Linked DNA regions of Homo sapiens: regions 1, 2, 3 and 5 are each linked to region 4. The links are contacts of gene promoters, found by promoter capture Hi-C in blood cells and fetal thymus (Javierre and others, 2016). All regions are on one chromosome and are shown on one strand. The core of a region is centred on a gene start or on the middle of the fragment in contact, and the rest is flanking DNA. Distances in the headings are between cores, read along the strand shown.

Region 1 (5,781 bases), core at 555-3,054, 860 kb after region 4:
CAAAACTGAGCTGCAACTTAACATGAAAATTCCCCAGTGGAGCCAAACACTGTCAATTTTTTGTTTATATCTTTGGTGACTTGATGCAAATAGAATCGACAGTTGGCCAGGATCTTTGTTGTTTTGTTTTGTTTTCAGAGGTATTTAAAAAAAATTTTGCTATCGGGAAAGCAAAGCCTAAACTGTTAGGTATTTGATTACTCTCAATGTTGTTGTTTTATTCTTTTTTATTTTATTTTATTAAATTATGTAGTTGCCAAAATAAAACTAAGAGCTAATAACTATAAAAGTATTTTGATACTTTGTAAAGTGAGCATATTAAATCATTTGTTTAATTTCATATATATTCCTCATAAGCTAATTTTATAGGATGATTGATGGCACAGAGAATGTGCATGTTAAAGAAAGGGGGTAAAAGCTACTTATACCTGTTCAGTAAATAAATTGGAGGAGAGAAAAGTCTGTCGGCTGATTCTGGCAGAAGTTTCTCATGATGTTTGAGAAAGTAGAATGTAATACAGAGACATCTTAATATGAGCTATATGTTTTTTGTATGAATATAATAATAATAGGAGTTTTTCCCATTTTGGTGGCTATAAAATTTTACTTTCCAAGAGTTATTTTAGTATTTTTTCTTTTATTTACTTTAACTTTTTGGAAATCAATCTGAAATTTTACTTGAAAGTGTTCAGTTTCTGGTTCATGTCAATTACATTTGATTCAAAGGCTTTGTTCATTTTTAACCACAAGAAGATAATCATTCATATTAGCAGTTGGTTGTCCTCTGTGTACCTAATTAAATTGTATTAATAAGGTGAAATGAACATTGTCAAACTGTACTTATTTACTTTTAAATATATCTCATTTTGATATAACAATTTGATTCTTAGCTCCTTTGTCAGAATGTACTACAAACAGAAAATTCGTTTCATAAATTATTGCTGTTACCATTAATTCATACTGGTGAAACATTCATGATGTCAATAGTGTTATCCATTATAATTAGTTAAAGTCCATGAATTTCATAGATGTTCATGTTTATTTTTACTGTACAAATGATTTGTTGTTCAAAATAGGTGGAAATAAAAAGGTTCAGGTGAAGTGAGAGTTTGTAACTATAATTTGGATGGGATTATTAGCCATTTAAAAAAACAATTCTAAGCTTCAAATCCTTTCTCGTACAAGGTTATAGAGGAAAGAAGGTTAAAAAAGTGTAGTTTACATCTGAAGATGAATGTGAACAAATTATTGGGCTACTTAAACAGATGCAAATGCATCTCCATAAGTTTTCATTGAGATCACAGATTAAAGCAATTCTAGAAGAAATCTGTATGGGAAGAAAACAATGTAGAAAATAAAGAGGAATGATTTTGTCAATATTATCCAGCTTCGCACATTAGCATAACTTGTCTATAAGTTTTTATTGGGAAAGACCTCCTTCCCACCTTCCACCTTTCAAAAGTACTTCCTCATTCCATGAGATATTGCTAGAAAGTCTACCATTAAAAATTGGTTTCCAGAAAGTATCACTCCTCTTTGGGAATGCATGTATCCCTCATTAGGGTAGCAATGGCTCCGATCAGTGATTCACAGGTGGATATCGAAACTTCATCATCTGTGTGGCCTCTGTGGCTGCTAGATGGGATCAAGGCTGCTGAAAAGTGAAAGAAGATTGTGTGCTGGCTTGTGCTGGGTGACCATGGGCCAGTTGTGGGGAGTGAGAAGTAGTTGTGAGGAAGCAAGGAAGTACAGAAGACTGGGCTCTTCATCATGTACCCTGAGGCTGCCTCCAGCAAACTGTTAAACTTGGAAATTAGACTATGCTAGCTTGATTACCTGTTGGTGCATTTGAAATGCAGTGGGAGCTTTTTCTTGAAAAATAAAAAAAAAAAAAAATACTTTCCAGGCCAGGAGTGGTGGCTCATGCCTGTAATCCCAGCAATTTGGGAGGCTGAGGCAGGAGGACTGCTTGAGGCCAGGGGTTGAAGAGCGGCCTGGGCAACAAAGTGAGACCTTGCCTCAAAAAAGAACAAAAATAAAACCCAAAACCATAAATATATAATATGTAAAATATATATATTAATGTTTTGGGTTTTTTTTAATTTAAATACATAAATATATCTATATCTATATATTCTAAAATAAAAGAAAATACTTTTCAAATAAGAACTTATATCTTCAGCTGTGATTACAGTTTATAGATTTGCCTATTTAAATGTCAGAAGTCTGTCGAATACAATGATTTATAGAAGTTGTTAAAAAAAATTCCCACATGGCTTCTTTATTAAAAAACAAAAGCTACAGTTAATTGCCCATACAAACAGAGTTTTTATTTAAAATGGAACAAAATTTAATGTCCATAAATTTAACTTATGAATGTAAATTGAATGACATAGATCAGTAATTTGTCCTAATTGTTATAATCTACTCAAAACAAAACATTGGTAAAGCTTTTGTCTACAGAAAAATTACTTTTTTGTGTCTATAGATAAATTACTTTTTTGTTGTTGTTGTTGTTTTTTTGAGACAGAGTCTCGCCGTGTCACCCAGGCCAGAGTGCAGTGGCACAATCTCGGCTCACTGCAACCTCTGCCTCCCAGATTCAAGCGATTCTCATGCCTCAGCCTCCGAAGTAGCTGTGATTACAGTTGGGTGCCACCATGCCCAGCTAATTGTTTTGTATTTTTTAGTAGAGATGGGGTTTTGCCATATCAGCCAGGCTTGTCTTGAACTCCTGACCTCAAGCGATCCACCTGCCTCGGCCTCCCAAAGTGCTGGGATTATAGAAGTGAGCTACCAAGCCCAGCCTATACATAAATTACTTACAATATATGGGATGTATTATAGTAAAATAGAAGTAACTAAGCTAAAGCCATCTGTATTCAACCTTAAAAAAGTTATTTATTGCTGTAATATATTGATTCATTCAACAAATTTTTACTGAATGCCTACCATGTATTGGTCACTATTCTAGGTGCTGGGGGGTCACTGTGAATAAAATGGACAAACTCCCTGCTTTCAAGGAGCTTGCCTTGTAATGATGCCAGTCATAGCCCAGATTAGTAGTCTATTTTTAAGAGAATTTGTAGTTTATTTTCAAAAGCATATATATATATATATATATTTATTTATTTATTTATTTATTTATTTAGAGATGGAGTCTTGCTCTGTCACCCAGGCTGGAGAGCAGTGGCGTGATCTCTCCTCACTGCAATCTCTGCCTCTTGGGTTTAAGCGATTCTCCTGCCTCAGTCTCTCGAATAGCTGGGATTACAGGCACCCGCCACCACACCTTGCTAATCATTGTATTTTTAATAGAGACTGGGTTTCACCATGTTGGCCAGGCTGGTCTCGAACTCCTGGCCTCATGTGATCCACCCACGTTGGCCTCCCAAAGTGCTGGGATTACAGGTGTGAGCCACTGTGCCCGGCCTTTTCTCACATTTATTTTTAAAAGCATTTTCTCATGTTTTAATAATTAATTTTGTAACTTAGCATAATTACCTAGTGAACGTTCTTGAGTTGAAGATGCATTTATGTTTATATTAATTTGGTAAATGAAATTAATTATTTCAACAACTGTATATGAAAAGGCTGTTATCTGCTGGGAACTGTTTTAAGGATAATGGCAGTTAGAAAAATGAATCAGAAACAGATCCTGACCTCAAGGTATAGTCAATAATGGAGAATACAACAGTGACAGAAGAATGGAAGAAAAGCAGTTATAAAATAGGCTTTGTGCCAATCTCAGTAGTTAAATAGAATGAAGCGCTGTGTGTCTGTGTGGAGCAGGGCAGTACTATTGCCCTTATATGTGTGCATTGAAAAGTTAATATTTTCAACTTTGTATTTCTTCCAACGATTACAACTTATACCTGTTTTATTACGATAATACCTTCTCTCTCCAGCCTAGAATGTAGAAGCAGTCTCTGCTAAGAGATCCTTGAACTCTAGGGAAATAAAATGCAATCAGATTTTAGATGGTTATATAGCTGTGATTTTCTTTACTTTCTAGTCTCTATCTTATTTAGTCTTCCTAAATAACGTAACTAGGAATGACAGTAAGGAAATAAGTTACAAATGCATTTAAATTTCCCTGTGGAATAAGAAATAGGTAGTATCTGAAGGATACACTGATTTATGAAATAAATATTACATTAATCTAACATTTAACAATTGAAGAAAAATGACTTCACAGGAAGAGAAATCTCTAAAATATTTCAATAAATAACCAATATTTTGATTTAGACTATACAAAAGCCTCAGCTATTAGGAACACAAACAATGACAGGTCCTTTTCATCTCTGAGAGACAGGTAAGTTGTCTCATTTCTGTCTTATTGGTGTAAAAACAAAAACACAAAGATTATGTGGCTTTTCATTCTGATCAGTTATTAGCTAAAGTGAAAGGAACCTAGGCTTGCTGTCTGGTACTTCACCACTGGTTACCACTGTGGTTTATGGAAGAACAGTAATGAGGTAGGGCCAGAAAATGATATTTACAGAGATTTTTATGAAAAGGCCAATTATACACAAATTTCTTTGTCTCTGATTTGTAGTTACCAGCTGACAAGTGGATACAAGCCTGCCCCTATGGACCTGAGCTTTATCAAACTCACCCCATCACAAGAAGCAATGGTGGACAAGTTGGCAGAAAATGCACATAATGTGTGGGCGCGGGATCGAATCCGGCAGGGCTGGACTTATGGCATCCAACAGGTACATGGGAATTAGCATTTGGTCTGAGACTTACTTAAGTGGGAATTAGCATAATTTGTAACAGGAAGGATTACATAATGACTATTTTAAAACTTGTATCATATAGATCACATATAGTGCACATTTGGACTAAAACAGCTGTTTAATGCTAGACTCAAGAATTTACATGACCTTAGTTCTGGCTGTGATCGTGAACACATGTGAGGCACACAATGAATAATACTACACTGGTGACTTATAATATGGTTTTGTGGTATTTCTCTCTCTGAGACTGTATTTTAGGAGAAACTTTTGAAATGTAAGAAGACTGGGATAAAGTGATAATAAAATGGGTTCACCATCCCTTATTCACAACCCCTGGGGCCACATAAATTTCAGAATTCAGTCTTTTTATTTGGTTTTCAGAATGGTGATTTGAGGATATATTACATGTATATACATAACAACCTTGGTAGGGCAAGTGACTTCAAATTGCAATTCATTCCGCACAAGGGAGGCATGGTCATACCAAAGAGGGGTAAAGGCCATAAACAGCCTCGCATCAGTTCAGGTTTCACCACTGAGTTACTGTTGCAGATCATTTTGCTCTAGGCATCAGTAGATATTCAGGTATTTGGGTATTAAGGTATTCAGGATTAGGTATTCAGTACAAATTTGCCTGAAAGAGGGAAGGAAGAAAAGACAAGACAAAACAGTATTTCTGGCTGGGCGGGGTGGCTCACACTTGTAATCCCAGCACTTTGGGAGGCTAAGGTGGGAGGACTGCTTGAGCCTGGGAGTTTGAGACCAGCCTGGGCAACATAGTGAGAGACCGTCTCTACAAAAAATTAAAAAATTAGCTGGGCATGGGGCACATGCCTGTAGTCCCAGCTACTCAGGGGGCTGAGGTGGGAGGATCACTTGAGCCCAGGAGGTTGAGGCTGCAGTGAGACTCTGTTTCAAAACAACAACAAAAACAACAAAACAACAACAACACAGTATTTACAGTATTTATTCTCTGGTTTACCAGAACAACCCCTGTGTGATTCCATAGCTTTCTTTTTTTTTTTTTTTTTTTTTTTTT
Region 2 (6,101 bases), core at 2,371-4,870, 740 kb after region 4:
GACATTATTGATTTAGGATAACAGACTCTATGGGTGGGAATGAGGGCTATCTTACTCTAGTATAACTATATTTAATTAATTAATTTATTTATTTATTTTGAGATGGAGTCTTGCTCTGTCACTCAGGCTGGAGTGCAGTGGCGCGATCTCGGTTCACTGCAAGCTCCACCTCCCGGGTTCACACCATTCTCCTGCCTCAGCCTCCCGAGTAGCTGGGACTACAGGCACCTGCCACCACGCCCAGCTAATTTGTTGTATTTTTAGTAGAGACAGGGTTTAACCGTGTTAGCCAGGATGGTCTCGATCTCCTGACCTCCTGATCCACCAGCCTCGGCCTCCCAAAGTGCTGGGATCACAGGTGTGAGCCACCACGCTCGGCCTAGTATAACTACCTTTATAGACATTTTATTTTGAGATTATTGCCTGTCTAATGGTGATGAGAATAGTTTAGAGGCCTTCAGTCGTTTCTGCTCCTGTGTCCCATGCAATGATTTTGAAAAACTTTGTCCATTCTTGAACACTGTGAGGTTGACATAGAAATCCTTTCATTATCAGTTTAGATGCATAGAATATAACTTCCAGTGTATTTTAAATAGTGATACTTTAAAATAAAATGGTTACATCACCCTTTTCAAAGTATCCAATTGACTGTAAGTAATGCTGTGGTTTAATACCTTTGTTTATTGAAAATGGTCTTCTTTAACAATAAAAATATATATTATTCAGTCTTTCCTTTTCACTACATCCTACTCCTCTGCAACAAAAATATTTATATAAATTTATTTCTTATATTTCTTATGTTAGTCTGTAACTTTAAAAAGCTCTTCTATATTGTCATTAATAACTAATTGAAAACATTAAATGTCTTTGATATAAATGCACAATTGATCAAATCTACCTAAATATTAAAACTTTTGGTAACTACCAAACTTAAAAGAAAATTTTTATTGGAAATGCATATCATAATGAGATGGAAAAAGAAGAGACAGACTTCTAAGGCAAACAAAGGAAAACTCATAGCTTTTATATATTTTGTGATTATTCAGATAATTTAAGGAAAGGGATTTTAAGTATTACTCATATTTTTTTACATTGTGTATTATAAAAATGAAAGAGTAAAGAAGTGTTTATACAAATTAATTGTATACATAATTACTAATTATATATGTAATTAAATTGTCACTATAAGTGCAGTTTCGAGAGGTTGTATTGACCTTGTAAAACAGATTGAATATGTGTTTTCAAAATTTAGAGACATACCTATACTTCATGATTGAGTGCTTAAAGAAATATTTATCTTTTTTGTAGAGAGAGACCCTACATCTGTCTTATTTTTGGTTAAAAAAAAAACATGAAAGCTTCTGAAAACCTGATAGGACTTTGTTTTTATTGTTATCGATACTATTGATGAGCTGTGACTACATAAATCTAGATTATTCTTCAAACTTCTGAATTAAGTAGTCTTGATCCTGTCTCTCTACTGTTGCTTATGTTTGTATTTTGAAATAGAAGTTTGGAGTTTATTTTCACTTTGATTACAGATAATCAATATATAGAAAGGAGATGATCTTATGGTCAGCCACTGGGGAAAGGGAATGCTACTTGCTTCTCATAGTCCAGATGTCACTGAGGGGAATACCACAGAGAAGGCAGAGCAGGTAGTTTTTCAACCATTTAGCAGCTTAAAGAGAGATGTTTTGTTCTTCTCTCTGACCCTTGATTAAATTTCACCTTCCTGTCTAGCAGTAGGAAAGTAGGAGATTCATATGTACGGAATATCATTATTTTAAGAAGTTTTTCAGATTATACTGACTCTTTAAACTACTTTGGCTTTATTGTAGATATGTAAATTAAGCTACATTCAGTTTAGGAGCTTTTATTTTTTTAATTAAATCCCTTTCATTCTAGGAAGTTTACATGTCTTATATGCAATGGCCACATAATTACTAATTTTGCATTATATTTAGCAATTTATAGTGAAGATCCTGCTTTTGTTTGTGATAGAACTATATTGCCTAATGCCAATGTTTATATTCAATATTTGGGATACTCGGTCTTCTCTTTTCTCCAGTGAGATCCTATACTATATATTTGTTGTAGTTGATGTGGCCCATTCATTATATATTTTATACTGCATACTCTTACACATGAAACTATTGTCAAAAGTTTTTCAGTATCATGGCCTTTTTAATAAATGGTTTTAATGTAGGGAGTTAAATTGAATAGAAAATGCTCTCCTATATTTTACTCCAGGCAAAATTATAGGGATATTGTAAGTGAGATATGTGTTAGTTCCTGTAATAGGAATACTCATGGAAATAAAAACTATGAATTACATAGAGTTCAAGTTCTATTTTTTATGTTGCAAATAAACAAAATTAAAGGGTGACATATCATAAAGAAGTACTCACTATTCCCCAATTCCCTTTGAGGTAATTTTGAGTAAATATCGATAATACGTAGGGCACAGTTTTTTGATGTTACCATAGGAAATTGCTTTATAAAACTCCATTACTATTGCCAATTTTAGTTTTTACTACATATGATTTTCTTGCCTTGCCCTCTCATTTGGGAGGAGGTGGGGGTCTGGGCATGTGAGACCAGGCTAGTTTGAGTGGCTGGAAATGAAAGCAAATGTGCTTAGACTTAGACTATGCAGTGGTTTTGCCAAAAACTGGCCACATTCATTCCATTTCTACCAGAATCCTCTTAGAGACTTCAAAGGAGCACTGGTACATATGAGTTCTATTGAATAGAACTGAGCCCAGAACATCTTCCAGATACGCTAGCAAATAGTATATATCTGGTTAAAATTTTGTGCTGTTTTGAAAATGAAGGTGTGTTCCATGATGATTAAGATGAATTGTTATTCAGAAGTGATTCATTATTTACAAATATTTCATTGTTTTTCCAAATAATGGAAACAAATATTAAACATATTTCCAAATATTTCATTGTTTTTCAAATAATGGAAACAAATATTAAACATAATTGTGACCGGGCACAGGGTGGCTCACGCCTGTAATCCCATCACTTTGGGAGGCTGAGGCGGGCAGATCACAAGGTCAGGAGATCGAGACCATCCTGGCTAACATGATGAAACCCCGTCTCTACTGAAAATACAAAAGTTAGCCGGGCGCGGTGGCTGGCGCCTATAGTCCTGGCTACTCGGGAGGCTGGGGCTAGAGAATCGCTTGAACCCGGGAGGCGGAGTTTACAGTGAGCCAAGATCGCGCCACTGTACTCCAGCCTGGGTGACAGAGCGAGACTCCGTCTCAAAATAAAAATAATAGTAATAATAATAATAATGATAATTGTGGTTTTCATAGTATTTGCAAACAATACACTTAATTTTATAAGAGGAGGATTTTAAAAAGCTTGTTTATTTCCAAAATAGAAATACTTTAATGTGCTATTATTGGTAACAAACTTTAATTTCATCTTAAGACAATACCGTGTTATCTGGTTTTATTAGTATACGGTTATTAACTTAATTGGGGGGCTTCCCAAATTAATTGTCTTTATAAACAAATTCATGTGAAAATGAACTTGTTATAACATTCTACTGCTAATTTTCTATGCTAACATCTCAAGTCAAAAATCCAGGTTAGGAAAACAACATTAAATTGATTTATAATTTACTAAAAGATTGCTAGCTTTGAACCAAGTACTCTCAATTTGTAGAACACAAACATTTTTAATAAGTCTGTATGAACCCAAGTTTATTAAATAATAAGATTATATTGAAAATCTCCATATATTTACTTTTTCTTTGACTCATTGTATTTTGACAAAATCATCCAGTGTAAACTGTCTTTTAAAAAATTATCCTTATGTTTCATTTTCTGCTTGTTGTTGACATATGAAGCTTTACAACATTCATTATTTTTAGAGTATACACTTTTTCTTCATAACATATCTGGCTGTATACCTTTTGTGCTTTTTGGCCTTGAATTGGAATTATCTAATATCAAATTTGTCATTTCCTTTTGAGGTTTATTTGCTTGTTGAATCTTTTCTACTCATTCGTTTTTAGTTTTCTTGCGTGCTTTGATCTTAAGCTTGTGTCTTATCAATGATATATATGGCCTGTCCTCACTTTGCATGGTACGGTGTTAAGGGAAAGTCATGCACGATAGAACTGTGCCATCACTCTGCACCTTAGCATGGTTAAAGCTCCTAAATACACAACCTTCAGTTAACAAGGTAATGTGCAAAGCAAGAACAGCTTGTATTTTGATTTTTCTATTTTATCCTACCTGAAAGTCATTTATTTATTTTTAATATACAAGTGATAATCGTACATACTTATGGGGTACATAGTGATGTTTTGATACAGGTAATGTATAGTGATCAGATCAATTAGCATATCCATCATCTCAAACGTTTATCATTTCTGCGCATTAACAACATTCAGTATCCTTCAAAGCAAATTTTTAATGATCATAACTTATCATTTTACTGAAACATTCTATATTTTCTGTTTATTACATTTTTTCCTGACTTTTTTAGAATTTTCATTTTCTTGGCTTATCTTTTTTGTTCATCGCGTTCTAATAATATAATTGTTCCACAATATTAAAATGTAAAGTATAAGAATACATTTCTTTTGTCAGGTAAATATAGTCTAACTATAGACTTCAGTTTATATATATGAGTTCCAATTAATCATACTTAGACGTTGACCACAATACTACTGTTTTTCAAGTCTGTGCAAATACAGCAACAGTTTTTAACTAGTAAATGCTAAAATATTACTTGGAGTTATACTTCCTGCATTATTTGCATTAGAGCTTGACTAATCTGTATTAGAGGGTGACTTGGAGCACAAGTTCTTTGTTATCTTTGCATAGAATAGGGCGCTGTGTGGATGGTACGGCATTTAAGTCAGAACACCTTGAGTTACATTTAACTTCTTCTTACTATAAGCTTTGCGACTTTGTGTATTACTTATCATTCTGAATAGCCATTTTGTTATTTGTGAAATGAAATTAATATCACTAATATCCTAAGTTTTTTGAGAACATTAAGACAATATATATGACTGTTCATTGTCCGACATATGTTTTAATAGCTACTCCTTCTGTGATTGTGGGTGCTATTGGATCAAGTCCTAACTGTTTTCATTAGGTGGAGTGGAAGCCACATAAGATGGGGACAGCCATTCCGACTACGCCATGTCACAACAGGAAAATACTTGAGTCTCATGGAAGACAAAAACCTTCTACTCATGGACAAAGAGAAAGCTGATGTAAAATCAACAGCATTTACCTTCCGGTCTTCCAAGGTGAGACAGAAAATATTTTGGGTTTCCTATAAATGTTACCCGGTCATATTTCCTTTGATGTTAGAAAGGAGAAAAGAAATGAGAAAATAAATGATGTAAGTATGTCTTATGTGTATTTCTAAATTCCCAGTTTCTCTTCCATACATTCCTCTCTGGTAAAACTGACTTTTCTAAACCATTAAAACCTGCCTATAGAAACAATCTAAATGTACAATAAAGGGTAATGATTACATAAAGGGTAATGATTGCATAAATCATACTGTATACATACATATTGGGATAGTATGAAGCTGTCAAAAATATAAAACATGAAAATACCTATTATACGTCATCAAATGAAAGGTGTTTCATGTCGTTTACAGTTCTTAAAACACATCCATCCAGCTCCTTCCTGTTTTCTTAAGCATTGACAGTATACAGTGACCACAGATATTGGGATGTTTTTGGGTTACAGTGTGAGGATAAAGCACACTGGAATCTGTGTCTCAAAGATACATTTATACATCCATTCTTATATGCGGACCTTCATCCTTAACCCTATTGAATCATTTTTATGATAATTGCTATATTCGTCCATTTTCACAGTGCTATAAAGAAATACCTGAGACTGGGTGATTTATAATGAAAAGGAGTTTAATTGACTTATACTTCCGCATGGCTGGGAAGGCCTCAGGAAACTTACAATCATGACAGAAGGGGAAGCAGGCAGGTCTTACATGGAGGCAGGTGAGAGAGAGAGCAGGAGAGTGAGTGTGAAGGAGAAAGCGTCAAACACTTAAAAAAACCATCAGGTCTCACGAGAACTCACTCACTG
Region 3 (5,695 bases), core at 2,262-4,761, 890 kb after region 4:
AGCTCAAATTGGTCTCTCCACTTTGGAAAACTGTGTGACAGGATCTCTGAAAATGGAATATTCACATACCCATGACCCAGAAATTCTACTCCAGTTTTTTAGCTACACTAGTGTGTCTCAACAGCAGGAGATATGTACAAGAATGGTTGTAGGAGCACTATTCACAATTGCCAAAGCCAGGATACAACTGAAAGCACACAGGATGGATGAATTAACTGGAAACTACGGTAATAAATGACAACATGGATATTTAAGGGAAAGAAGTCCCAAAAGATAACTATGGTAGGCCGAATAATGTCCTCCAAAGATGTTGATTGATGGCCTACTCTTGGAAATCTGTGAATATGTTACTTTACATAGCAAAAGAGATTTTGTTGATGTGATTAAGATAGTGATCTTGAAATGAGGAGATTAATTAACCTGGATTATCTGGGAAGCCAATGTCATCACAAGGATCCTTATAAGAAGGAAGTAGGAGTGTGTGTTTCTGTGTGTGTGTGTGTGTGTGTGTGTGTGTGTGTGTGCGTGTGTGTGTGTTTGAGAGAGAGAGAGAGAAAGAGAGAGATCGATCTGGGAGTCAGGGAAAGCCAGAGACCTCTAGAAATGACAGGAAAGTCAGGAAGTGGGTTCACTGCAGGGCCTCCAGAAGGAACTCAGCCCTGTTGAGCAATAGGTTGGTAGATACTTAAGAGTATTTTTAAAAGAACCAACTAAATAAATAAAAACAGGTGATGATGAGAGTGTGTCACAAACAAAAGTTTATCAGTAATCCACGGTCCACTTCTGTGTATTTTGAAATTCTTCTTTTGAGACAGAGTCTTACTCTGTCACCCAGGCTGGAGTGCAGTGGCACGATCTCAGCTCACTGCAACCTCTACCTCCCGGGTTCAAGCAATTCTCCTCCCTCAACCTCCCAAGTAACTTGGATTCCAGGCACATGCCACCATGCCTGGCTAATTTTTGTATTTTTAATAGAGACGGGGTTTCACCATGTTAGCCAGGCTGGTGGCTGGTCTTGAGCTCCTGACCTAAGGTGATCTGCCTGCTGTGGCCTCCCAAAGTGCTGGGATTACAGGCGTGAGCCACCACACCTGTTCTGAAATTCCTAAAGAAGAAACAGGATTGTGTCTGTAGAGCTTTTGGGACTGATCTAGTAAGAAGAGGAGAAATTGATGATAAAGGTATAAGTATGAGAGGAGATAATTACTCATGTTCCTGATAAGGTGAAGGGGGGTGTGATCTCAAGCACAAGTGGATGAAATGAGACAATTTTTTCATTTTAGCACAGAAAAAAAAATGGCTCAGGTACAGGTCATAGTAGTATCCTCTCTTTTATGAGCAGGGTGCTTTGTATGTGTAGGGGAACTCCCCAAGCAAAATGAACGGCTTTGAATGAATGGCTTCTCTGTATTTCTTTATCTTCTCCAACTCCCTAGTGTTTGATTGCCTCATATCCTACATAGTCCTTTGGTGCTTCCCATTGCCGCCTTCTCTGGAAGCCTATTTCCAAAGGGAAGTCTCCCTTCCATCTTCTAACATAAGCCTACACAAGAGAATTTCTTTCAAAAGATTTCTGAACTAGAGTTGATGCAATGCCCCTTTTGGAGGTATTATTTTTTTGGAGACTTATTTTGCAATGCCTCTTTTGGGGGTAATTTTGGAGATTTGTTAAGGTCTCTCACCCATTCTGCAGTTTTGATAAGGTGGTGGGAGTGGGGGCATGTACGCTCCCTCAGTGTCTCTCGCCCATTCTGCAGTTTTGATAAGGTGGTGGGAGTGGGGGCATGTACGCTCCCTCAGTGTCTCTTCCTGCCTGCATCTTTGGGATAAGTCTGTGACCTCTGGGAACAGAAGAGTCCTGCAGTGAATGGCTTAAGATGGTCCTGGCCACATGGAGAAATGGTCTCTTCCTTGATGACCTCTTGGGTTGGGTTTATCTCTCCCTGTTCTTTTGTACCATTAGAATAGTAACATCTTAAGGACTGAGAATCAGATATCAGCTTAGAGGGAAAAAAAAAGAAACAAAACACAACTAAGAAGGCCAACCAGTGCCTTTCATTCTAAGTCTCTGGAGAAACAGAAGCAAATCTTCTAGTTCATTTATGATCTAAGCCCAGCTCACCAATTTAAAAAATCAGAACTTGAGTCCCAAATACCAGCTAATAATAAATTGTACTTTTTCTTTGCCTTGTGCTCTCTTCCTTGCCACGTGAGGATAATTTACTTCTTCTTCTTCTTTTTTTTTTTTTTTTTTTTTTTTTGAGACAGAGTTTCACTCTTGTTGCCCAGGCTGGACTGCAGTGGCGTGATCTTGGCTCACTGCAACCCCCGCCTCCTGAGTTCAAGCGATTCTCCTGTCTCAGCCTCCAGAGTAGCTGGGATTACAGGCATGCGCCACCATGCCCGGCTAATTTTGTATTTTTAGTACAGACAGGGTTTCACCATTTGGTGAGGCTGGTCTCGAACTCCTGACCTCAGGTGATCCACCTGCCTCGGCCTCCCAAAGTGCTGGGATTACAGGCGTGAGCTGCTGCACTGGGGGAAAATTTACTTCTTAAAGCACACTCATAGGGCAAATTTCCATGGGTCAAAAAACTATTATTAATTTAATAGGAAAAAAGTGCATTCTTGAGCTCCTATATTAAACCTAATTTGTATTAAAATTATACTAAATCTCCCTAAAATGAAGTCAGTAATTAATTAACATGTCATATGCTCACCTAAATGTATTCCCTTCTTCACTTGTTCTTCAGTTTGGTTGTTAACCTGTTCTACCAAAGCTTGTTCTTAACTATCACATAGTATAAACTCCAGATTCCCTTACAGAATATATCATACCGAATATGTACATAATTCAAACTTCAGTGTAAGGAAAGCAAAACAAAACCAGCAACAATAAAGTTGGAAAAAAACAATAAAGACAAAGGAATGTCAGTGAAGAAACGCAGATGATATCTGATTTACCCAGCATATTGACGGCATAGGGAAAACCATGCACAGAGTCTTCTCTGATGTGAAGCGTGTGCTTGTCTGCTGAAAGAACTTAGGCGCTATGGGCTAATTCTTACGACTGTGAGGAAGACTGCACATCTCACTCTGCTTCTGCTTGGCTCCTCCAGAGCCACGTGAAATCACAACAATTCTTTTTTTTTTTTTTTTTGAGACGGAGTTTTGCTCTCGTTGCCCAGGCTTGAGTGCAATGGTGTGATCGCAGCTCACTGGAACCTCCACCTCCCAGGTTCAAGGGATTCTCCTGCTTCAACCTCCTGAGTAGCTGGGATTACAGGCACACACCACGACGCCTGGCTAATTTTTTGTATTTTTTGTAGAGATGGGGTTTTACCATGTTGGCCAGGCTGGTCTCAAACTCCTGACCTCAGATGATCCGCCTGCCTCAGCCTCCAAAGGTGTTGGGATTACAGGCGTGAGCCACTGCGCCAGGCCCCAACAATGCTTTAAAAAAAAAAAAAATGAAGAAATGCCTTAAGGGGTAATGAAATGAATTTCCCATAAAGTAGAATTCAAATTCTTCTAATGAGGGATGATTTCCGGGTTCCTTGGGGCTCCACACACATGGCTTTGGTGGACATGTGTCTGCTGGCAGATACAGCGTTCTGAATACAAACCGTGTCTCCATTCTACCTGTTATGGACTGAGTTGCATAGCTCTAACCCTCAATGTGGCTGTATTTAGAGATGGGGCCTTTAAAGGGGTAATTCAGGTTAAATGAGGTAATAGTGTGGGGCCTTAATCCAGTATGGCTGGTGTCCTCATAAGAAGAGGAGAAGACACCAGGGTTGACTGTGCTCAGAGAAAAGACCATGTGAGGATACAGCCAGAAGGCTGCCATCTACACACCATGGAGAGAGACCTCAGGAGAAACGAAGCCTGCTGACACCTTAATCTTGGCCTTCCAGCCTCCAGACTGTGAGATCACACATTTCTGTGGTTTAAGTCACTCAGTCTGTGATCATTTCTTATGGCAGTCTGAGCTGACCAATACACCACCCCTTCTACTCTTGCATCCCCTACTAAGCTAGTACTATTCTCAATTTATTCTTACGGGAACAGCCTTATATTATCAGTAGTTTGAAGAGCTAACCATATCCTTAATTAAAAATAAGTGAGAGAGTCACTTAAAATCTTGATGTATAGTTTATGGTAAAAGAACGGTTATTTATGTTTGGAGATTACCACATTCTACAGTGTCTGCTGTGGATACGTATCTTGTGTTGTCCATTTCAAGCTTCTCAGCTATTCTGCAAGTAAAGATCATCTCAGAGGCCCATGATGGTTATAATCAAATCCAGAAACAATACTTTTGAGTCTGTATTTGCCACCTGAAAGGAGTGTGAGTAAAATTGAATTCCTGGTCCTCTCAGAACTCATGGAATTCCTTTCCTCGGGAGAAAACCAGATTATTTTTGTAATTAAAATAGCTGTATAGCTGTAGACAGAAAAGAAAATAAAAAAGAGAGGCAGGGAAAACTTTCCATTATTGATTTTATCATGCTGCTGTTTTAGAAAAAAAAAAGAAGCCAGGATATAGAACTACTAGTTTGTTCCTACAGTATGCTTTGTACCCTCAGTTGAAATATTGCAGCAGTTAGATTATTTGATGGAAATGGGTGGCTTATTCAGAAGTCTGGTTTTCAACATGGTGTGAATTAAGGTTAGTAGGTCTGTACCATCCCCAAACCCACCTGCCTGGCTTTACCATAACAGCTGAAGTTCCTGTCACCAGCATCCTCTGTGCAACCTGCTATCATGATACAGACCTGGGAGAGTAACTTATTATTGGGAATCTCCTTAATTAAAAATCAACACTTGTCAGAGGAAGGAAGAAATCAGGACTGTGAGGCCAACTTCTATAGCAGAGGAATCCAAGTACAACCCAATTCTGAAATGATTCTTGTGTGGCCTTGGGCAAATAGCCTGTTTTCATTTCCTTAAAATAAAAACACAAATTAGAGATGATCTCTTCTTGTCTAGTTCAGTTCTAAGATTCCAGAAATCAAAGGCAAGTGTTTTTCTGTTTGTTTGTGTTTTACCTTCCCTCTCAGAGTTCTTTATTTTTTATTTTTATTTTATTTTTATTTTATTTTTTGAGACAGAGTGTTGCTCTTGTTGCCCAGGCTGGAGTGCAGTGGCATGAGCTCAGCTCACTGCAACCTTCACCTCCTGGGTTCAAGCGATTCTCCTGCTTCAGCTTCCTGAGTAGCTGGGATTACAGGCACTGGCCACCACACCCAGATAATTTTTTTTTTTTGTATTTTTAGTAGAGATGGAGTTTCACCACAATGGCCAGGCTGGTCTCAAACTCCTAACCTCAGATGATCTGCCCACCTTGGCCTCCCAAAATGTTGGGATTGCAGGAGTGAGCCATTGTGCCTGGCTAGCATTCTTTAAAAAAAAAAAAAAAAATCAACTTTGATTTTAGATTCAGAAGCTATATGTTCAGGTTTGTTGCCTGGGTATATAGTGTTATGCTGAGGTTTGTAGTACAATTGATACTTTCACCCAAATACTGAATATGGCACCCAATAATTTTGCAACCCTTGTCCCCCCACCACAGTTGTCCCCAGTTTCTGTTTTTGCCATCCATCTTTATGTCCATGAGTACCCAGTGTTCAGCTCTCACTTGTAAGTGAGAATACACAGTGTTTGGCTTTCTGTTCCTGGGTGCTAAGATATG
Region 4 (5,468 bases), core at 1,591-4,090:
TGATCAGATTCCAGGGAACAGCAAATCTCCAGGATTCTCTCTCTTTGCAGCTCCATTTTCTGCTGTAATTGGCCTTGCAAATTCTAATGTTTGGTCTCTCTGAACTCTCAGTTTATGGAGACCAGTAAGCTGTGCCTGGGTACCTCTTTGTTGCATTGCATCTTGAAAGTTTTCTCCAGACTGTAAGCTGGGGCAATTGCAGTACTCACATCATTTATTTTCTGCCTCTGAGGGTTCATTGTCCCTCTTTGCCTGATGACTAATGTCTTGAAAACCATTGTTTTATGTGTTTTTTTCCCCAGGCTTTAGTTGTTTCAGGCAGGATGGTAAATCTGGCGCTGTTTTTTCCATCTCATGAAGTCCCCACGTTAATTTTTGAAAACTAAGTTGAACGATGTAGCACTTTTTGTAATTGTACATCCAATTTCTTTTCTTTTCTTTCTTTCTTTTTTTATTTTTTTTTGAGATGGAATTTTGCTCTTGTCGCCCAGGCTGGAGTACAGTGGCGCAATTTCTGCTCACTGCAACCTCCACCTCCTGAGTTCAAGCGATTCTCCTGCCTCAGCCTCCTGAGTAGCTGGGATTACAGGTGCATGCCACCACAGCCAGCTAATTTTTTTATTTTTATTTTTTTTAGTAGAGATGGGGTTTCATCATGTTGGCCAGGCTGGTCTTGAACTCCCAACCTCAGGTGATCTACCCACCTCGGCCTCCCAAAGTGTTGGGATTACAGGCCTGAGCCACTGTGCCCGGCCCAGTTTCTAATAGGTAAAATTTATTGATCCACTTGTTTCAAGAGTATGATTTTAATCCAAAATATAAACTCTAAATTTTAAATTTAAATCCAAGTAAATTAGCTCAGTCACTATTTCCAGGGATACTACTTCTCTCAACAAATGAGCACCACTGTGCGGTGGACACGCCTGTAGTTGCTGGGGTCTACAACTGTGGACGAGACAAAATCCCTGCGTTTGAGGAATTTACATCCTAGTGAGAATGTTTTTGAAAATGTTAATGTGGCGGGGCGTGGTGGCTCACACCTGTAATCCCCACTTTTGAAGGCTGAGGCAGGTGGATCACCTGAGGTTGGGAGTTCGAGACCAGCCTAACCAACATGGAAAAACCCCGTCTCTACTAAAAATACAAAATTAGCCGGGTGTGGTGGCACATGCCTGTAATCCCAGCTACTCCGGAGGCTGAGGCAGGAGAATCGCTTGAACCGGAGAGGTGGACGTTGCGGTGAGCCGAGATCGTGCTCTTGCACTCCAGCCTGGGCAACAAGAGTGAAGCTCCATCTCAAAACAAAACAAAACAAAACAAAGTTAATGCAACCTGTTTGCTAATTGTTATCTTTCTGCATAAAGCCCCAAACAGTAACGGTGAGTGATGTAAAAATTCTAAGGAACAATGATAAATCCAGACAAACTCAACTTGAAACATGTCCACAAATTAGTAGCCCTGAATCACAAAAAATTCTGTAGCATCTGTGGGCAACGTTTATTCAATTGAGATATAAACTGAATTGCAGGCAGGCATCCCATCAGCTCGTCTGGTGCCTAAGGCAACCTCTGGTTTACAGTAGTTGCTTAATACATATTTGATTTAAAAATTTCAGCCTACTTGTCCCAAGGGTCCTCATTTTGCTTCCTGCGGCAGCATAACTGATAGGGAACAGCTAGCCAGCACTAGGGGGATGAAAAGGCGTTAAGTGCAACCCACAGGGCGACATGGAAATATAACACGAAGCTGGCCGCTTGCCCTTCATTGTCAGCTCTCTTAAATTTATGCCCGGTAGGTGAGAGCTGACACTTCCTGCCTTTGGTTTGGTTCCTAACATTTTAATAGGATGGATCCAAATCCTGTGCCTTGATTTCCCCAGGTGAGGGTGAGGAGGAGAGAAAGAAGAGGGGGGTTCTGTAGCTTTTAAACTTTACTCCTTAGGGGCCTGTATGTATGTATGTGTGTGTGTGTGTGAGAGGGAGGAAGAGAAACAGAGAGAGAGAAGAGAGAGACAGAGATGAGAGAGGTATGAGAGACACAGGAGAGAGAGACAGATGAGAGAGAGAAAGAGAGACACGACAGAGAGAGAGAGACGAGAGAGAGAGAGACACGGGAGAGAGAGACAGAGGAGAGAAGAGGAGAGGAGAGAGACACGAGAGACAGATGAGAGACAGTGAGACACGAGAGAGAGAGAGAGATGAGAGGAGAGAGAGACATGTGAGAGAGACACAGGAGAGACAGAGATGAGAGAGAGATATGAGAGAGATCTATGAGAGAGAGACACTGGAGAAAGAGGGACAGAGATGAGAGAGAGACAGACGAGAGACAGACACAAGAGAGAGGGACCGATGAGCGGAAAGAGAGGCACGAGAGAGAGATGAGAGAGAGAGAAGAGGGGTCTCCAATGAATATGTGGGAATATATGGAAAACGCGAATATCCAAATGATATTTGGAAAACTTGGCTGTGTTGGGGTGGTCAGGGACCCAGCCTCTTAGGTGTCCCTCCCCTGGCTCGCGATCACCCACCCGGGACACCGACGGACCCCGCGCCGCTAACCAGCCGCTCTCAGAGCGTGGGTGGCAGGCGTGGCTCTGCTCGGGGCCGGCCGCTCCCCTCACGTTCCCGGAGGCCTCGGCGGAAGGCGTGCAGGCGGCCTCTGGGCGGCGGCTGCAGGGGAGACAGTGGAGGGGCCCGGCGCCCTTGTCCGCCCGCACGTGCTCGGGGCGGGGCGGCTGGGGCCCGACGGGCGGGGCCGGGGGCGGTGGCGGCGGGGGCGTGGCCGGGCGGCCACGTGACGGGCGGCGCGGCTATTAAGCCGCGCGGCAGCTGCTCGCAGCCGGAGCTGGTGCTTCGCCCGAGACCCAGCGCCCAGGCGTGTCGCCCCGAGAGGAGCCGCGCGAAGGTCACCCCGCGCCCGCCGCCCGCCGCCCGCCGCCTCCGTGGGTCCGTTTGCCAGTCAGCCCGTGCGTCCGAGCCCCTCGCGCCCCGCCGCAGCCCCGGCCAACCGAGCGCCATGAACCAGATAGAGCCCGGCGTGCAGTACAACTACGTGTACGACGAGGATGAGTACATGATCCAGGAGGAGGAGTGGGACCGCGACCTGCTCCTGGACCCAGCCTGGGAGAAGCAGCAGAGGAAGGTCAGCAGGGGCCCGCGGGCCGCCCGCGCGTGGTGGGGCCGGGTCCCCCGCGGGGCTCCCGTGCGCGTGGCCGCGTGGCCTGGCGACTGGCGAGAGGGCGCTTTGTGGAGGTGCTGTGCTGTCCTGTGCCCTCGCAGCCCCGGGGGCCCCTTAGGAAAGAGGACACGTCCGGGGACAGGCAGGACACTGGGCGTCGTGTGTGTGCGCGCGCGCTAGCAGCATCGGAGGTACAGATGTGGTTCTGTTCCTCACACCAACCCGCGTTAGACCAGATCTGAAGGGGTCTCTGGTCTGCTCCTGACCCCTTGAGTCTGTGACCTTGGCCCCCGAGTTATACTCTCCTGGCCCGCTTGTGTCCATTTACCCCAGCCTCTCTCTTCCCCATTGAAAGAAGCAAAAGAACATCAGCTTCATTGCAATTTCCACCGGGCTGCCCCTAGAGTCATGGAAAGTCATTTATTCAATCTTTTGGGTTCCTTGGAGAGGGATGTTGTATGAACACTAGACATTTACCGATAGTGACAATTATTTCACACTCTATTTATAATTCATTGAGGTAAGCACACAGGGACGAAGGAGTCAGCCAGCTTCTAAAAGCTCCCTCCCCATTTTGATTGGCGTTCTCTGGGGGCCCAGTGGAACATTCCACTTTTTCAAGGTTTCCTCTTGATCCTCTTGGCTGGAATAAATAGGGAATGCTCACCAGGAGGCTTAATCCCGCCTCTTACTTGACTAGGCAGGGAGCCTGGTTGGGTCAGACATGACAACAGAGACCTGCCAACCCAACCTTAAGATAACGGGGTTATGGCAAAAGCCAAACGCTCTGAACTTTTTTCCGCCTATTTTTCTGGGCGTGGGGCAAGATAGATTTCCCTTCTAAGGACCTGCTTTAGGTGGATAGCCTGTGGTGACCATAGTGTGTATGGGAATCTCTGTATAATGGGTACTGTAGCTGATTGTGCGATAGTATTTGGTGAATAGGGGTATGATGGTGGAGAACACACATCCCAAACTCCTCTCGCAGCAAACAGCGTTAGCTGGAAGGAGAGATGATTATCAAATAACCAAGCACTATTTTTATATCAGGATGTCTCTTGTCTACCCTCTCTCCTAAAATACCATTTACTATTATTATTTTAAAGCTCTAATTTAGCTACATTTCAGTCTCTCCCCGAGTTTCTTAAGGCTTTTACCATCCCTACCTTTCTTAGAAAATGGGAGTAATAAATAGAAAAAAACAAAACTTCAAGCCGTCTACTATTGTTTAAAGGACTGATTGTGAAGGAAGTACGAGGCATGAGGATTACTAATGTGTCATCTGGACCAGCTGATGCATCATCCATCAGCACGAAGTTAAAAAGTGACTTTAATTTTTAGCAGTGAGTGTTTTTTTTTAAAAGAATTTCCCCAAATTTTGATTACTGCACTTTTCATGGATTAAAAAAAAAGATAACTCCCGGGTCTTTGTTTTAAAAATTGCTTTCTTATGAGGAATTGTAAAATAGCTAAGGAATTGGACAGGTAGTCTGCCCATCATTTTTGAAAGTGATGGTCTAATCACAGTGCTTTCTGTTGCCTTTTTTTTTTTTAAGTACAGTACAGTAGCAGGATAGAGGTAATGACAGTTTCCAGAGGCCACATTGACATCCCTTCTGCCATATTTAATCTTTTAACTTATTTGCAGTATTTTTGGATATATGGCTTCGAATTCTTTTAGGTTTGGGATTCCTATGTTGACTGTATTATTATAATTGCATAGCACTTGAAGTAAAGTTGATTATTTAAAAATAACATACTTCCTGATCCCAGTCCAAAATAATGTTAGAAAGTTTAAGGTGAGAATTTTTTTTAAGATAGTTTGAATGTTGTACATGCTTGGGGGGCAAAAACTACATTAGGAGAGATCTAGAAGATTCTCTATTTCTACTTTTGGTATAGACCCTGCTCAAGTCAGTAAAATAATATTGAACTGTGAGCTCAGTGTGGCCAGAGCAGTGGCCTCTATTTATGTCCCATGAGACAAACTGCTGGAACCGGACAAGGGTAAAATACCATTGTTTCTATTGTGGGCTGCCTTCTCCACACTTGCCATTTCAGTGATATGCTGGGTATGAGATCTGTCAACAGATGCTGGTAGCACATGATGACGTCCGTGGCGTTATAATGGATGTGATGCCTAATTATATCTACAGTTCAGAGAGTCTCATGGGCTATGGTAATCCTTGCTCTGTGGTGTGGAAGGAAAGCCTTGCTGTAGAAGGACTTTATAAAAGTGTAATGAGTTTTATAAGAGAAGGGAATGCAGAAGATAGTGGGTTTAGCATGAG
Region 5 (5,670 bases), core at 2,813-5,312, 580 kb before region 4:
ATTCACCCCAACATTTTTGGTTCTAGAAACCTGGCAAAGCAGCCACATTGGCCCAAGCCAGCGACACCGCGCGGCCCCGCGCTTCCCACAGCCCTGGGCCCGGCAAGGCTGAAATCAAGTCTAGAAGATGGCAAGGTGGGAAGGAACGCTCCTCTTTCATCTTGCTTCAGAGAAAACCTTCGCCAGTCTCAGCATCATCAGTACACACGTGGCCTGCTCTTCAGCGGATCTCACCAGTAACACCTTCTGGCATTTGGGCTAGAGACCGGGCCCCTGAGGCCGCCCTGGGAAGCCTGAGGTGTGGAGGGGGATTCAGGATGTGCCTCTGTTCCTGTATGTGCAAGTGTGAGTATGAGTGTGTGTGTGAATGTGGAGGTGGGTGAGTGCATGAATGTGTGTGTGTGAATTTGAGTGTCATGTGGGTGTCTCTGTATGCATGTGTGTGTGTACATGGTGTCTTTGTATGCATGTGTGTGTGTGGGTGTTGTGTGTATGTGTACGTGTGTGCATGTGTATGTAAATGTAATTCTGTGGGTGTGTGTGAGTATATGTGTCAGAGTGTCATGTGGGTACATGGGAGTGTTGTGTGGGTGTGAGTGTGTGAGTGCTATGTGAGTGTGTGGTGTGTGTGTTTGTGTGTTATGTAGGTGTGTTTGTGGGTGTTGTATGTGTGAAGGTGGCCGTGTATGTGGGTGAGTGTTATGTGGGGGTGAGTATGTGTACGCGTGGGTGAGTGTGGGTGAGTGTTGTGTTATGTGGGTGTGAGTGTGCATGAGTGTGTGAGTGCTATGTGTGTGGTGTGAGTGTGTTTGTGTGAGAGTGTTATGTGGGTGTCTGTGGGTGTTGCGTGTGTGAATGTGGATGTGCATGTGGGTGAGTGTTACGTGGGTGTGTGTGTGGTGTGAGTGTATGTGTGAGTGTTATGTGGGTGTTTGTGGGTGTTGTGTGCGTGAATGTGGATGTGCATGTGGGTGAGTGTTATGTGGGTGTATGTGTATGCGTGGGTGAGTGTGGTGAGTGTTGTGTCAGTGTGAGTGTCCATGAGTGTGTGGTGTGTGTGAGTGCTATGTGAGTGTGTGTGTGGGGTCTGAGTGTGTGTGAGAGTGTTATGTGGGTGTTGTGTGTGTGAATGTGGCTGTGCATGTGTGTTATGTGGGTGTATGTGTATGCGTGGGTGAGTGTGGGGAGTGTGAGTGTGCATGAGTGTGCATGAGTGTGTGGGCACAGAATTTATCTGATCCCAAACCATTTTCACACCTACTCTCCCATTCGGAGGCCCATTAAAGGCCCCCCAAGCACTCCCCTGTCCCTCCCGCCTGTGGAAGGGCCGCTCCTGCTCTGAGGTCTTCTAGCACAGCCCATCTTGCACAGTGGCCATTTCCTGCTTGCATGGTAGTTATTTGTACCATTGTCTCTGCTCCTTCTAACTGGACGTCTCCTGAGGACAACACAGCGTCCGGTCTGTCGTTGTCTTCCCGAAGCCACCAGCACACAGTAGGTGCTCAACAAATAGCTGGTGAAGGCTGGGCACGGTGGCTCACACCTGTAATCCCAGCACTTTGGGAGGCCAAGATACGAGGATTCCTTAAGCCCAGGAGTTCGAGACCAGCCTGGTCAACATAGCGAAGCCCCGTCTCTGTTTAAAATGTATATAACTGGTGAACTCGTATCAACCCACCCCCCAGCTCAGTGTTCTCCACAGAGTCCTTGGGGGTGTTTTCTCTCCCCTACATTTCTGCTTTCAGCCCCAGAAACACCTGCCCCGGCAGCCTGGGGTGGGTGGGTGGGACAGCAGCTCCCTGCAGGCTTTGGTGAGGGTGGCCCCACCCGGAACTCCACATGAGGTCAACCTCCCTGGTCTGCAAGTCATCACAGAGAGGCTGAGAACCTGGCTGAGGCACTGGAGGGGCCGTGCGCGGTGACGGGACGCGCTCAGCCTTCTAGGGGCCTCAGTTTCCCCTCTTGGCACTAGGAGCAGCACCTTCCCACCCACTTCACAGGCCGTTGCAAGATGATAGCGGCGGCAGCTTTTGAAAAGCTCTGAATGATATCAGACAACAAATCACAGCACTGAAAAAACAGGTCTAGTGCTTTCGGTGTGAGAAAAGGTTATTTTTCAGTGTGCTGAAATACTGTACGGCAATTAAGTTGCTGAAGATGGATTTGAATGAACTAAAACTTAAACGTGGCAGAGAGAAAGCAGCCTGAGGCATGGCTGACTCTGCTCTTTGGTGTGGAAATGAAGCCCAGCGGCCTGGGGCTTGGCCTTTGTAGATCAGCCTCCGAAGGTGAAGCTGGAATGAGGGAAGGCATCTGCCCCCAACACCAGGTGTCTGAGGCTCTGGCCCCACCCCACAAAAGGGAGACACTCTCCAGCAAAGCTGCCGCTAAGCAGGGGCTCGGCGGTGACTGCAGCTGGTGCATCTTTTCTTGTTTCCGTTTTGCTGTGGTCACTTGATTTTAGAAGTTGCTGGAGGTACCTGTCCACCCCCTCCTCAGACAAGGGGCTGGGTTGGTTTGCAGGTAGAATCACTTTCCCTTTTCTCTGGACTTGATTTTCAGGCCAGTGGACTTGCGCAGCCTTTGTTTTGGCTGTTGTCCCTTCTCTAGTCCTTGCTATGTTGCTGAATATTAGCACAGTATTTGTAAGGGAGGGTGGGTTGGAGTAGAATGAAAATTCAACCATTTTTGCCTGACAGCAGATTTGATAGAAGTTTTAGTAGAGGAGAAGTTAGAATTTAACTCATGATTCATTAAATATATGTTTTCTATATTTCTTCTTATAAGAGATTTTCGACATCAATCATGTATCAAAGAACAGAATATACATACAATTTCCATTTTGTCAGTTTTATCCAATTCATCCACATCATGCAGAAACAGAAGTTTCCAGTAGATGGCGCCAAAGTCTGTCTTTTCTCCGCCTCCCTGCGCGCTCTTCGTTGTTTCAAGATCCGCACATCAACCAACCCTCCAGAAAATGACATTTCTTTATCAGCGCAGACCAGCACGAGGTGCTCTCCACAGCAGAAAATCCCAGTAAGATGTCTGGCAAGAAAAATAGCCCCAAGAGTTGTAGCCCTGGGCAGTAAAACCAGAAGCCAGGAATCCTGGTTTCCAAACAGTTGATGGGTTTTGTGCCAGTTCAGTTTTGAAGCAACGGCCCTGCGGTACTGAGGGTCAGAGCCGTCTCCCATCTGCTCCCTCTCTTCCTCCCACTGGCCCCCATGGAAGCAGCTGCCCAAGCTTCTTGAGAAGGTGAGTGCCGGAACTCCAGGACAGGAAGAAGACTCTAAGCTTGGTCTTAAAAGACCACAAAGCGGCCTGGCGCGGTGGCTCACGCCTGTAATTCCAACACTTTGGGAGGCCGAGGCGGGCTGATCACGAGGTCAGGAGATCGAGATCGTCCTGGCTAACACGGTGAAACCTCGTCTCTACTAAAAATACAAAAAATTAGCCGGGCGTGGTTGCAGGCGCCTGTAGTCCCAGCTACTCGGGAGGCTGAGGCAGGAGAATGGCCTGAACCCGGGAGGTGGAGCTTGCAGTGAGCTTGCTGGATCACTCCAGCCTGGGCGACAGAGCGAGCCTCCATCTCAAAAACAAACAAACAAAAAACACCACAAAGCATGAGATCCAACAGCCTGGGCAACATGGCGAGGCCTTGTCTCTAGAACAAAATTTTAAATTAAAAAAATTAGCCAGACATAGTGGTGTGCTTGAGCCGTAGAGGTCAAAGCTGCAGTGAGCTGTGATTATGCCACTGCATTCCAGCCTGGGCAATAGAGTAAGACCCTGTCTCAACAAACAAACAAACAAAAAGCCAAACAAACAAAACCCCACGAGATCCTAAGGTTCCCATGGCCTTTCTTCTTGCACTGGGCCCATGACTCTGCCTCAGGCTGTGACCGGGACATGAATGGAGAGGAAGGAAAGGGAAATGGTAAAGGGGGCAGGATTGTCTCCAAGTACTTCCCCAGGTCCAGGGGAAGAGGGCTGGCAGGTGAGGAAACCAGAGAATGGGAAACCCAGGCTGAACCCTGATGTTGAGCCCGAACGCTGATGCACTGCCGTCTGTGTGCATAGCACAGTGAAAACTGCAAAGAGATGTGGTTCCTGGCCTCCAGGAATTAACGATCAGGTGGAAAGAAAGTTCATTCCACCCAGGGATGCGTTGGAGCCAGCTAGCACCTTTGAGCTGATTGTGCACGTCTCTACACAATGACACCATGACGTTGTGTCAGTAGTTTCAAATCCGCCATGTGGCAGTATTCACACCAGAGAAATCAGCGAACTCCACAAATCAGGGCTCCCTCCACTCCCCCAGAGCTGAACTTTAAACATTTACCTGCATGCTGGTGACTCTGCCTCACTATAGCACAAACTGCTTAAATAAAGGTGGGGCGGGACATTTGGTCACAGTCGGGAAGCAGTTGAAAGTGTCATGGGTTTGAGTCTAAGGTCAAGCTCTTCCGCTGATTGACTATCTGACCCTGATTATCTCCACCTCAGCCTCTGCCTCTCTTTAATGAGACTGATGCTATCTACCCTAGTTAGTTACAGAGTGGCTGGGAGGCTTAAATGAGATCGGTCTGTGTGGATACTATGTAAATTATAATGGATTTTATCAAGGTAATAGATGCAGCTTTAAAACATTCATAAAATTATGAGAATGAGGCCTACCAAATCCCAGTTTCATAAGGATACATATGATAATGCATATTTGTTTGATTTCCCATTTATTTAATAACACTTATTGACACTACCCATATGCTAGACGCTGCTAGTTGGGCAGTCTTAAGAGAAGATGTAAAAACACTTTGTAGATTACAAAGCTTTTTTTTTTTTTTTTTTTTTTTTTGAGATGGAGTCTCACTCTGTCGCCCAGGCTGGAATGCAGAGGCGTGATCTTGGCTCACTGCAACCTCTGTCTCCAGGGTTCAAGTGATTCTCCTGCCTCAGCCTCCCAAGTAGCTGGGACTACAGGCATGCATCACCACACCCAGCTAATTTTTGTAGTTTTAGTAGAGATGGGGTTTCGCCGTGTTGGCCAGGCTGGTCTCCAACTCCTGACCTCAAATGATCCGCCTGCCTGGGCCTCGCAAAGTGCTGGGATTACAGGTGTGAGCCACTGCACCCGGCTGATTACAAAGTTGTTTTTTTTTTTTGGTTTTTTTTTTTTGAGATGGAGTCTTGCTCTGTCACCCAGGCTGGGTGGAGTGCACTGGCGCAATCTCGGCTCACTGCAAGCTCCGCCTCCTGGGTTCATGCCATTCTCCTGCGTCAGCCTCCCGAGTAGCTAGCTGGGACTACGGGCGCCCACCACCACGCCCGGCTAATTTTTTTTGCATTTTTAGTAGAGACGGGGTTTCACCGTGGTCTCGATCTCCTGACCTCGTGACCCGCCCGCCTCGGCCTCCCATACAAAGCTTTTATACAAGTCTTTTGTAAAGTAGAAGGCATCATGCAAGGAAAAATGTTGTTTTTCTCAGCTTTCTTCATCTTTTCCAATCTGGACACACATTTTCACTGCAACTAATATTATACCGATACTTTCATTAGACTAAAATACCTGGCAGCGGTCACAGACAATGGTGTGGAAAGGAAACCAAGACAAGAAAACATCCTTGCAATATTTGGCTGAGGCAGGAGAATGGCGTGAACCCGGGGGGC

What was found. The method cuts DNA at HindIII sites, captures the fragments that hold promoters and counts their contacts. A CHiCAGO score of 5 or more calls a contact.
Region 1: a contact is called between a fragment that was not itself captured here and the fragment with the promoter of ACTN2 in region 4, in 1 of 17 cell types (M2 macrophages). The highest score is 5.2, in M2 macrophages.
Region 2: a contact is called between a fragment that was not itself captured here and the fragment with the promoter of ACTN2 in region 4, in 2 of 17 cell types (M2 macrophages and M1 macrophages). The highest score is 5.6, in M2 macrophages.
Region 3: a fragment that was not itself captured here is called in contact with the fragment with the promoter of ACTN2 in region 4 in 1 of 17 cell types (M2 macrophages); the score reaches 5.4 in M2 macrophages.
Region 5: a fragment that was not itself captured here is called in contact with the fragment with the promoter of ACTN2 in region 4 in 1 of 17 cell types (fetal thymus); the score reaches 5.2 in fetal thymus.

Annotation. Positions count from the first base shown.
Region 1 is chr1:237,543,873-237,549,653 of GRCh38, forward strand. RYR2 (ryanodine receptor 2) reads left to right here. Exons shown (of 105, transcript NM_001035.3): 26 at 4,559-4,718. Among named protein-coding and RNA genes, the nearest start is that of MIR4428, 76 kb to the left of the region's middle. The HindIII fragment of the contact is 1,288 bases long and covers 1,161-2,448 here.
Region 2 is chr1:237,417,962-237,424,062 of GRCh38, forward strand. It overlaps RYR2 (ryanodine receptor 2), which reads left to right. Exons shown (of 105, transcript NM_001035.3): 12 at 5,131-5,287. Among named protein-coding and RNA genes, the nearest start is that of MIR4428, 50 kb to the right of the region's middle. The HindIII fragment of the contact is 491 bases long and covers 3,376-3,866 here.
Region 3 is chr1:237,577,013-237,582,707 of GRCh38, forward strand. All of the region lies in intron 29 of RYR2 (ryanodine receptor 2), which reads left to right. Among named protein-coding and RNA genes, the nearest start is that of MIR4428, 110 kb to the left of the region's middle. The HindIII fragment of the contact is 1,466 bases long and covers 2,779-4,244 here.
Region 4 is chr1:236,683,659-236,689,126 of GRCh38, forward strand. ACTN2 (actinin alpha 2) reads left to right here and starts at 2,841. Exons shown (of 21, transcript NM_001103.4): 1 at 2,841-3,141. The coding sequence starts at 3,016. RefSeq lists a silencer at 2,697-2,786 and an enhancer at 4,425-5,468. The HindIII fragment of the contact is 13,171 bases long and covers 1-5,468 here.
Region 5 is chr1:236,100,916-236,106,585 of GRCh38, forward strand. No RefSeq gene overlaps it. Among named protein-coding and RNA genes, the nearest start is that of NID1, 39 kb to the left of the region's middle. The HindIII fragment of the contact is 1,535 bases long and covers 3,296-4,830 here.